Regions from separate parts of the Homo sapiens genome. Here regions 2 and 3 are each linked to region 1. Evidence: promoter capture Hi-C in 16 types of primary human blood cells and fetal thymus (Javierre and others, 2016). All regions are on one chromosome and are shown on one strand. The core of a region is centred on a gene start or on the middle of the fragment in contact, and the rest is flanking DNA. Distances in the headings are between cores, read along the strand shown. Region 1 holds the start of LITAF (lipopolysaccharide induced TNF factor). Region 2 overlaps TXNDC11 (thioredoxin domain containing 11). Region 3 overlaps TXNDC11 (thioredoxin domain containing 11).

Region 1 (3,450 bases), core at 388-2,887:
CCCAGTCACTTAATCTGTGAAAACATTACAAGATACTTTCTCAAATGTGAATAAATGCATCAATTATTCATGCCTTAAAGTAACAGGAAAGAGGGAGATGGGCCTCCCTCATGGTAGATTACAATTAAATGTTTCTTAGAGAGTTTGGTGCACATTTAGTTCCCAGAGCAAGGGCTGGTGGAGAAGAAAGCCAAGTGCAATATGGGTGTTACTCTATGCCAGGTAAAGCAAGTCACACGCCATCTAGATCCTGCTCCAACTGATAAAACCAAAACACTGGTGGAATTCCAGATACCAGCCTGCACTTCTCTCTGTAGGCATCTGGGTTAGTCCTAAATAGGAAGTCCTAAAAAGAGTCACTCTGAGAAGGCAGGGGGTGAGAGGGCAGATGAAGCAGCCAAGCACACATTAAGGCAAATCATGGCTTTCCTAAAGAGGACCCCAAGCTGGGCTTCAGACAGTCTTTGAACCAGCACCAGTGCACCAGGCCAAGGGGAGGGAGGCATCCTCTTTGGGAAGACTGGTAGGAGCTTGGAAGACCCCGTGGCTTCCACAAACTGTAGATTTCCCAGTGACCACTGCTCAGTCCAACAGCCAGTGACATCAGCTCCACTGTCGGGAAGTAGAAAACCAGTGAAGGTCCAACTAGCCTGGTCCCTGAAGCATGACTGGCCCTTCCAGAACATACACCTTTCCCCTATCACCTCCTCTCCCTGACCCCGAAGAGCTTCGGGCACACCACCAACTGACCACCTATCCACAGTGACCTGCAAACCAGAGCGGGGAGGGTATTTGCCTAGCTTGGCAGGGAGGGGCGAGATCCACTTCTGCCACCAGTCACCAGCTGGTCCCACCAGCACCTACCCAGCACCGGCGGTGGACGGTGAGCGGCGTCTGGGCCCAGAGCTGGGTGCCATCAGCAGTAAGAGGACCCCTGCGCTCGCGGGGTGCCCGCCTTACCCCGCGGGGAGGGGTCAGGCCTAGGGGCCACGGCCCGCTTCGCTCTCTGATTTTCACCTCCCCAGGGTCTCCCAGGGGCCTCGGGTGTCCTTCCCGGATCTTGCGCGAAGTCGCGGGGGCAGGGAGAGAAACGCGGGTACCCGCGCCCCTAGAAGTCAAATGTTTGGCAAATAGCATTTGGGAATTCGTTGGGGTTTTTTTGTTTGTTTTGGTTTTGTTTCTGAACCCCCGGGGGATATTTCTGGAAATCTCAACCTGAGTCACTAGAGAGAATCGCGCCTTTTTCTAAAAAGCCCAGGGGCCGTCCTCTCCGGGGAGGGGGACGCGGCGGGCCGCGAAGGGCGCTCGTTCGGGTGGGGGCCGGACGACCCCGCCACGCGCGATCGGGCCACTCTGGGACGCAGGAGCTGAACCCAACCGGAGACGCGGCCGGGACCAGCGCTGGGAGGCCGGACCCCGCCCCGGCCGGGCCCCCACGCCCTCCGCCGCGCCTCGATGCCCGCGACCCGACCCGCGCCCCCTGGCATCCCAGGAGGCCCCAGCCAAGGGCTCAGTGCCCGGGGCCCCCAGCAGGTGCTGGCGCCACCGGCCCCCCGCTGTCTCCCGCTGGTCCCCGCGCCCCGGCGTCCCCGCGCCGCACTCACCGCCGCCCGCGCCGCCTGTCGAGCCGGGAGGTCTGAGCTGGCCTCTCGGGCGCCCCGAGAAAAGGGCCGGGCGGCGGGGACGGGGGCGGGGGCTGGACCCGCCGGGGCGGAGCGCGGCCGGCTTGGGCTTCCGGCTTCTCCCGCCCCCGCGGCCCGCACCTGGGCCCCAGGCGAGACCACCGCCGGTTCCCCGCCTCACTCTGATCGCCCCCAGGCTCCATCCCACACCCGGCTCGCTCGCCACCCCAGAGCTTCCCAGGCTTACCCCCGAGACGCCTGGCGCGGACCTGGTGTCTCCCCCACTCTCCTATCCTGCCCCTGCCTCTCGGTGCCAGCCCCACCCGTCCGCCCCCGACAGCCTGGCCCTCCCTCCTGATTTGCCGCTCGCGGCTCTCCCCACTTTCCCCCCTCCCCGCGCCGCTCCACCACTTCCAGGCGGCGGGACCACCAACCTCGACCCCGGACCCGCGCTGGGGCGCTCCCGGCCCTCTGGAGGGCGGCCCTTCTCTTCCTGTAACTCTACAGACGCGTCCGGACAGACCAAGACACTCTCTGTGCCTTCGGGCATGTTACCCATCCTCTCTGAGCTCGGCTTCCTGTCTGCAAAATGGGCACAATAGCGGTCCTGTCTCCTAAGACCGACTGGGAGTGAACTGGGAAGATGGTAAAGTTTTTAGCACAGGATAGGTATTAGGTAAGGCTTATCAGCTGCCTGTCCGCTTTGTGCCCCCAGGGTGGTCCGTGCCGCCAGGTAGGCCTTTCTCAGCCATCACTGAAAGCAAGCTCTGGAAATCAGTAGCCCCATTTCACATCCGCCCCTAAATGGGTGCCATCTGCCCGTCTGCTTGGAGCCCCATCGGCCGGCTGCAGTGATAACAGCAGCAGCCTGGATCCAGCAGGCTCTCTGGGAAATCATTAGAGGGAATTAAGAAGCATGCCTGGCTTTCAGAGTACACAGAGTCAGGAGATGGGCAGAACCATGATGTGGCCATCCACAAACAAACGCCATTTGGACAGGGAGCTTCCGAGCCCCATGCTGGCAAAGACCTGGATCTTAGAACCCTCCGGTGCCCAAATCCCATGCCTTTACCCGAGGTCCTAAAGATAGTGAGGCCCAGATAGGGAGTGTGGCTTGTCCCGGGTCCCTCAGCAAAGTGTCCCCAGCCCCAAGTTCTTGCCACCTTGCGCCATGTCCACTGACGGGCCACCCTCAGCCGTGGACGAGTTACCAAGTTGGAAGGGATTTCAAAGTTCTCCCAAGCATAGGAGGTTCCCATGTAGATGTTATTAGTGTGGGCAACATTTTACTGCTTTTAAAATATGAAGGGGGCGGGTGCAGTGGCTCTTGCCTATAGTCTCAGGACTTTGGGAGGCCATGGCCAGAGGATCTCTTGAGCCCAGGAGTTCAAGGCCAGGCTGGACAACATAGTGAGACTCCATCTCTATAAAAATTTTTTTAATTAAAAGAATAATAATAAAGCGGTGGAGTGGTGGCATGTGCCAGCTACTCAGGAGGCTGAGGTGGGAGGATTCCTTGACCTCCGGAGGTTGAGGCTGTAGTGAGCTATAATCGAGCCACTGCACTGTAGCAAGCAAGCAACAAAGAAAGAAAGAGGGAAAGAGGGAAAAGAGAAAGAAAAAAAAAAGAAAGAAAAAGAAGAAAGAAAGAGAAAGAAAGAAAGGGAAAAGAAAGAGAAGGAAAGAAGGAAGGGAGGGAGGGAGGGAGAAGAGAAGAACAGGAAATTGGATTACACCCAACCTCTGCCATTCCTCCATTCTCAGGATGCAACCAAGGCTTGCAAAGGTACCAATTATTATACTGACATTAAGACAGAATATCACAGAC
Region 2 (3,450 bases), core at 661-3,160, 120 kb after region 1:
CCGCGAGCTGAGATCCCAAGATCGTGCCACTGCACTCTAGCCTGGGCAACAGAGTGAGACTCTGCCTCCAAAGTAAATAAATAAATTTTTTTTTAAAAAACAGTTAAACATCAAATATTACCAAATTATACACAAGTAGCTAAGATATAAAAATATTGAGGTGTTAAACCCATAAAGTTTCCAGTTTTATCCCATGACCCCATCTTTCAGTGGTGTGGTCCTCTCTCCCTCAGGTAAGGAGTGGCCGACAAGGATGAGGTCGGAGTGAGTATGTCCCTACTGCCAGAGTCAATAATTTTTCATACAAATCTGATGAGTGTAAAATGGCACAAAACAAAAGAAATACAGGACAAATAAGCCAGGCTGGGGAAAGGGGACTGGAAACGGGAAGGCAGGGCTGAGGAGGCCTGGCACTGAGTAGGCCTTTTTGTATCTGACTCCTAGGGCCACAGTGATGTATCACACACCCTTCACACACTCCAAAATTAAACAATTAGTTAAAACCAAGCGAGATGTGGCAAACCCAACGTGGAATACAGCACGTACAAATAACCCTAACTATTGCAAACGGGTAACACCATGGTGAATGGGACAGGAAGAAAGAACCTAAGTAACTGGAAAACAGTATCTTGACTGGATGCTGTAAAACTAAAGGCAAAAAGAACTGTACATAAATGCTGTAAATCTAGGTAGTAAATGTGTTTCTTAAAGAGGTATAAGTTAGCAATTCTGAAACTATGAACTTATTTACTTCTTTGTGGTAAGTACATTATACATAATTACAGCCAGGACTCTCACTGTTGCAGTAAGAAGTTATATATTAATAAGAGAAGGCTAAAATAAACCCTGTGATGTTAAATTGAAATCAGAGAGAATGAGTATAAACTTAAGGCTTTTGATACACACACACACACACACACACACACACACACACAGAGGGAGAGAGAGGGGATGGATAGAGAAATACAGATATATGCACATGTGTGGGTATAATACACTTCCTAGTTCTATCTACTGAGAAGACCTAGAAGTAATGACATCCTAATACCAAAGAGCATACCTAGCACGTAGATCTTGGTTTCTAAATGCCATTCTCCAGTAAAAGAAACCAGGGCCCTTGGAGAAGAGGTTGATTCCAGAGCTGGGGTGAAGAAAGTACAAGATAAGCCTGAAATATCTTGTATCAGAAGTAAAGAAGTGGGCTGGGCATGGTGGCTCACGCCTGTAATCCCAGCACTTTGGGAGGCCAAGGCGGGTGGATCACCTGAGGTCATGAGTTTGAGACCAGCCTGGCCAACATAGTGAAACCCCATCTCTACTAAAAATACAAGAATTAGCCGGATGTGGTGGCACGCACCTGTAATTCCAGCTATCTGGGAGGCTGAGGCAGCAGAATTGCTTGAACCCGGGAGGTGCAGGTTGCAGTGAGCCGAGATTTTGCCATTGCACTCCAGCCTGGGTGACAAGAGTGAAACTCCGTCTCAAAAAAAATAAATGAAGTAAAGAAGTGCTCATAAAAGGATGGGGGTTTGTCCAAAGGACCCAGGAGCCAAGCTGAAGCCCTCCTAGTAGCCAAAGTTGGAACAATTTGAGCAACAAAATAAACAATGACAGTACACAGAATAAGATAAATACCCATGACTCCATAATAATATTAATGAGAACAGTCAGCTCTTCTTTAAGGGAGAATTCCACTAATAATGAAAAAAGAATGAAAGAAACAGAAAATAACCATTTGAACACCAGAGTAATTGTTGCAGGCAAGATCCACTGATGGAGGCTAAAATTCATGAGCAGAAGTTTGAGGATATATTTACATAGTGTCAAATGATCTTCCCCCAAGGTATTTATTTATTAATTACAAAGGAAGAGATAGTAACTTTTCAGTGGAGAAACACAGCAGACACTACTTTAACCAACTGATCAAAGTTAATGTCACCAGTAGGAGACACACTGACATCATATGAACCCCCTGATAAGAAGTGCTGAGAAGTACCTATTTCTATGGTATTGCTGTCAAAAGACATGACCTATTCCAGTCACAAGAAAACAGACAAAATTGAGCAATTTTCTACAAAATACCTGAGAAATATTCTTCAGAAGTGTCAAGGTTATAAAGGACAAGGAAAGACAGAGGATTTGTCATAGGTTGAAGGAAACTGAGAAAAAAACCAACACATTGCGATATGGGATCCCAGACTGGATCCTGAAACAAAAACAGACACTAGTGGAAACATGGAGACAATTCAAATGAGGTCTGCAGTTTAGTGAATAGGACCGAACCAATGTTAACTTCTTTTTCTTTCTTTTTTTTTTTTGAGACAGATTCTTGTTCTGTCGCCCAGGCTGGAGTACAGTGGTGCATCTCGGCTCACTGCAACCTTAAGTGATTCTCCTGCCTCAGCCTCCCGAGTAGCTGGGATTATAGGCATGCACCCCCATGTCCAGCTAATTTTTCTGTATTTTTAGTAGAGACAAGGTTTCACCATGTTGGCCAGGATGATCTCGAACTCCTAACCTCAAGTGATCCACCTGGCCTCAGCCTCCCAAAGTGCTGAGATTACAGGTGTGAGCCACCACACCCAACTCTAACATTGACTTCTTAGTTTGTACAAAACCACCTAACAATTGGTTATGTAAGATGTTAACAATGGGGGAAACTGGCTAAAGACAGGCAATTATGGAACTCTCTGTTTTATTTTTGCAACTTTTCTCTAAGTATAGAATTAGTTGAAGATTTTTAAAAACTTTGTTTAAAGGGCATGGCATATAAGTCCAGATCCCAAAGCTGTCAGAAGAAACAGACCAAAGAGAGGACGTGATTTAGTAGGACCAAAACACCACTCTCCAGAAGCAGCTGATCTTGGAGGACAGTCACAGTTAAAAGAAGAGAAGGAAAAGCAGCCAGTAAGGAAATTCATTTGATAGCCTGCCAAAGTCACCATCGTGATTTATTAGAGCAGAGAAATAAGAAGTGACAGCCTGACCCAAAAGTTAAAAGGGGCCATTCAAAAACCTGTTTAACTGCCTTAATAAGAATGGACAGTCTGCCCATACAGAACAAATTCTAACATGCTCAAACATATTATAATTTCAAAACTTTATTTTTCACACATAACAGAAATGTACAAAAAACACGCTTCTATTTAAGTTCTAGCATATGGTGGAAATCTTGCTAGAAGCAGCAGCTTAAATTTGCAGTCTCACGTGAACAAAGAATACTTAGATTAGCAGAGGAAGTTTATAGCGTAAAGATGACACAAAAAACCAGCATGTCACATCTCCTTATCCAGAGTGTTTTCTGATAAGCAGAGCTCCAGGGCTTTCTACGACAGAAGTCTTAGTCATTTATAAAATGAATTATTTTGTCCTAAAAGTAATGAATTTTCAATATTTTAATTAAGAACTTGGAATTTGTTGGACAATTAAAAATAAACTAAGACTCATACT
Region 3 (3,450 bases), core at 343-2,842, 99 kb after region 1:
TCTCAACCTCTTGAGCTCAAGCAATCTGCCTGCCTCAGCCTCCCAAAGTGCTGGGATTACAGGCATGAGCCACCACGCCTGGTTCCTAAGGGAACATTTTTTGAACATAATGAATGATTTACATCTTAAACCCATTTCATTTTCAGACCTCCACAAAAGAATCCCAACTGCCCACCAGTGACAAAAATTTGGCATTACCTGTTGCAGGGAAAAAACAAGACAGTAGGAAGACGATCGACCATAAATTCCCAAGGAAGGTCATTCTGAGACACGTCAATCCTGGTAAAGGGAAAGAACAGAAATGGCAGATGATCAGCCCAAGAAACACCAACTTGAAAGAACCTTCTCAGATAACTTCAAGAACCTGGTGCATTTTTTACACCCCACATTGGGCTAGTCCCTTCTCGATGAATGTACTACCAGGTGTGAGCTGGGCGCTGATACTTCCAAGACATACAACATTCTACTACGTGGACGCTTTCCACTGAGTGGCAATGTGATGTCCTGAAAGTAAAAATGAACTTGCAGAAAATGCCGCACTGACACCTGAGGAGTCATTCACTCCTCACCTGACAGGATCTAGCCAAGTATTTTAATCCCTGAATAGCTCTGGGAAAAGAAAGGAAATCATTGAGCAAAATACATCAAGCCCCTCTGAAGATGGAAAATTATACCCTCTTTATGTTGTAAATCTGGATAGAGACCAAAAACAGCCTATTTTCTTAGCAGATTTGACATTAATTTTCTAATACAGAAAATGACATCTGTACTAACTCACCCAGCCTGTGCTCAATCACTGTGGGAGCTAACCGCAACTGCTCTAGAGGCCTGCCCCGGGCAGCTGGCACAGAGCTGGGCACACAGCTGGGCGCCCACACTCGGGCTAAGCAGACATGGAGCCACAACAGCATCCTTTATGGAAGGGGCTGCATCCTCCTTGCGGAGGGGCTATTCAGCTACTATTCATAAACAGTGCACACAAAAGATGAACATGTTTTCAATCTTTACCTTGACAGAAGTTTTTAGAAAGCATAACTGGGGGGAGTGAGGGTGCGGTAAGTGTCATGTATGTGTCCAAAAGGATGAAATTTGCTTTTCAAAAAATGGCACAACCAGGCTGAGCACAGGGGCTCACGCCTGTAAATCCAACACTTTGGGAGGCCGAGGTGGGTGGACTGTTTGAGCCCAGGAGTTCGAGACTAGCCTGGGCAACATGGGGAAACCCTGTCTCTACAAAAAATTGGCCGGGTATTCTGGCACATGCCTGTAGTCCCAGCTACTTGGGAAGGTGGGAGAATCACCTGAACCTGGGAGGTTGGGGCTGCAGTGAGCTGTGATTGCACCACTGCATTCCAGCCTGGGCAACAGAGTGAGACCCTGTCTCAAAAAAACAACAACGCCGGGCGTGGTGGCTCACGTCTGTAATCCCAGCACTTTAGGAGGCCGAGGCAGGCAGATCACGAGGTCAGGTGATCGAGACCATCCTGGCTAACGCGGTGAAACGCCACCCGTCTCTACTAAAAATACAAAAAATTAGCTGGGCATAATGGCGGGCGCCTGTAGTCCCAGCTACTCGGGAGGCTGAGGCAGGAGAATGGCGTGAACCCGGGAGGCGGAGCTTATAGTGAGCTGAGATTGCACCTCTGCACTCCAGCCTGGGCAACAGAGCAAGACTCCATCTCAAAAAAAAAAACAAAAACAAAAAACAACAACAGCAACAAAAGGCATAACCAAATGAAAACCATTTACCAAAAGTTTACTAACAAAACAGCACTCCTGCCTCACCTGTGCCAGCCTACCTAAAACATTAGTGTTCCTTTCTAAACAAGTGGGAGTGAACACTATATTCCATAATTAAATGCTTTTTCTCACTTGATTCTTACTTCAAAGAAAGCAAACTATAAAATTAAAACATTGTAAAAATCCACTCAGAATTCCATTGGGCTAAATAAGGCCCCCCTTTCTTATGCAGGCTGCAGGCTTGGTCTATATGCTTACTTTTTTTTTTCTGAGACACAGTCTTGCTCTGTCGCCCAGGCTGGAATGCAGTGGTGCAATCTCAGCTCCCTGTAACCTCCGGCTGCTGGATTCAAGTGATTCTCCTGCCTCAGCCTCCTGAGTAGTTGGGACTACAGGCACGTGCCGCCACACTTGGCTAATTTTTTATTTTTAGTAGAGACAGGTTTTCACTATGTTGGCCAGGCTGGTCTCGAACTCCTGGCCTCAGGTGATCCGCCCACCTCGGCCTCCCAACATGCTGGGATTACAGGCATGAGCCACTGCACCTCGCCTATATCCTTACATATTTTTAAGAAGAGTTGTCATATATTTCATACTCTGTTCTTTTCCATTAACTGTATGAAAAGCACTGTTGAAGGATAAAAATTCCATTAAATGCCCAGCCATAATTTACTTAAACATTCATCTCCTGGTGGATGTAAACAATGCTATAATGATGAGCTCATGCTTCTTCGGAATTCCTATTCCATTACTTCTCCAAAGTAAAATTAACTGGGTCAAAAATGTGTTAACTGTTTTTGTTGATTTCTTGTAAATGTTGCCAAAATGCTTTCCAAAAGAGTTATGGCAATGTACTCATTCCATTAGATACATCTGACTGCAGTTTCCATTTTATTTTATCAACACAAGATTCTGTCACTTAAAACCACTGATTACTTTAATATGTTAAATGATACTTTGTTACTGTTTTAATTTACATTTATTAGGTTATAATTTCCCCACTTGTTTATTTACTCTCTCCTCTTAAAAGAAAAACCTGCTCACATCCTTTGTTCAGAATGGAATCGGTCTCAGCCATCTTCTAAACCATTTTAATTTCCGGGGAGGCTGGAGTATGAATGCCTGATTTAATCCTGGCCCCTCATTTGCAGCTTGAAACTCTGGGCAACTTGTCGAATCTTTCTATGTCTCAGTTTCCTCCTCAACACAAATAGCACTTTCTTTTTTTAACTAGAGTGCCTTCACTAAGCGTCGCAAGGACTCAGTCAGGTAATATGTATATCAAAAACTCTCCCAACATAGTAACTCCTCAGATTTGATTCTAATTATTACTTACAGTGCATATAACAGGTGACACAGAGACACTGGAAAATATATTAATGGTCCCCCTTTTTGTCTGCTTTCCCTGTTTTCACTGCACGTATTTCTAGTGGAATCTGTCCATTTTTCTCTCTTTATTTTTCCAACTGCTTCCACTTTGGAAAGTTTCCATCTCCCAGAGGAATCAGCAAATCCTATTTTTTGTTTTGATTTTTTTATATTTAACTCTTATCTATCTGTAGGGTTTTGGGGGAGGTGGGGGGTTAAATGTGAACAGTTTTCCTCACCCAAAACTGCTTACTACCCCATCTAAAGACTCTGTATTTGAGCCTTCTTTTCCCAAAAAATATTTTTAAAAATTTTGTTTACTCAAAAGCGCACATACAGTAC

Evidence for each region. Contacts are between HindIII fragments. The CHiCAGO score rates a contact against its expected background, and 5 or more counts as called.
Region 2: a fragment that was not itself captured here is called in contact with the fragment with the promoter of LITAF in region 1 in 5 of 17 cell types (neutrophils, monocytes, total CD8 T cells and 2 more); the score reaches 12.4 in neutrophils.
Region 3: a fragment that was not itself captured here is called in contact with the fragment with the promoter of LITAF in region 1 in 5 of 17 cell types (neutrophils, monocytes, total CD4 T cells and 2 more); the score reaches 8.3 in neutrophils.

Annotation. Positions count from the first base shown.
Region 1 is chr16:11,585,282-11,588,731 of GRCh38, forward strand. LITAF (lipopolysaccharide induced TNF factor) reads right to left here and starts at 1,638. Exons shown (of 4, transcript NM_001136472.2): 1 at 1,605-1,638. RefSeq lists an enhancer at 392-501 and silencers at 1,402-1,481, 1,512-1,991. The HindIII fragment of the contact is 18,010 bases long and covers 1-3,450 here.
Region 2 is chr16:11,702,610-11,706,059 of GRCh38, forward strand. The region is part of intron 5 of TXNDC11 (thioredoxin domain containing 11); the gene reads right to left. Among named protein-coding and RNA genes, the nearest start is that of SNN, 36 kb to the left of the region's middle. The HindIII fragment of the contact is 4,582 bases long and covers 1-3,450 here.
Region 3 is chr16:11,683,967-11,687,416 of GRCh38, forward strand. TXNDC11 (thioredoxin domain containing 11) reads right to left here. Exons shown (of 12, transcript NM_015914.7): 11 at 199-279. Among named protein-coding and RNA genes, the nearest start is that of SNN, 17 kb to the left of the region's middle. The HindIII fragment of the contact is 6,503 bases long and covers 1-3,450 here.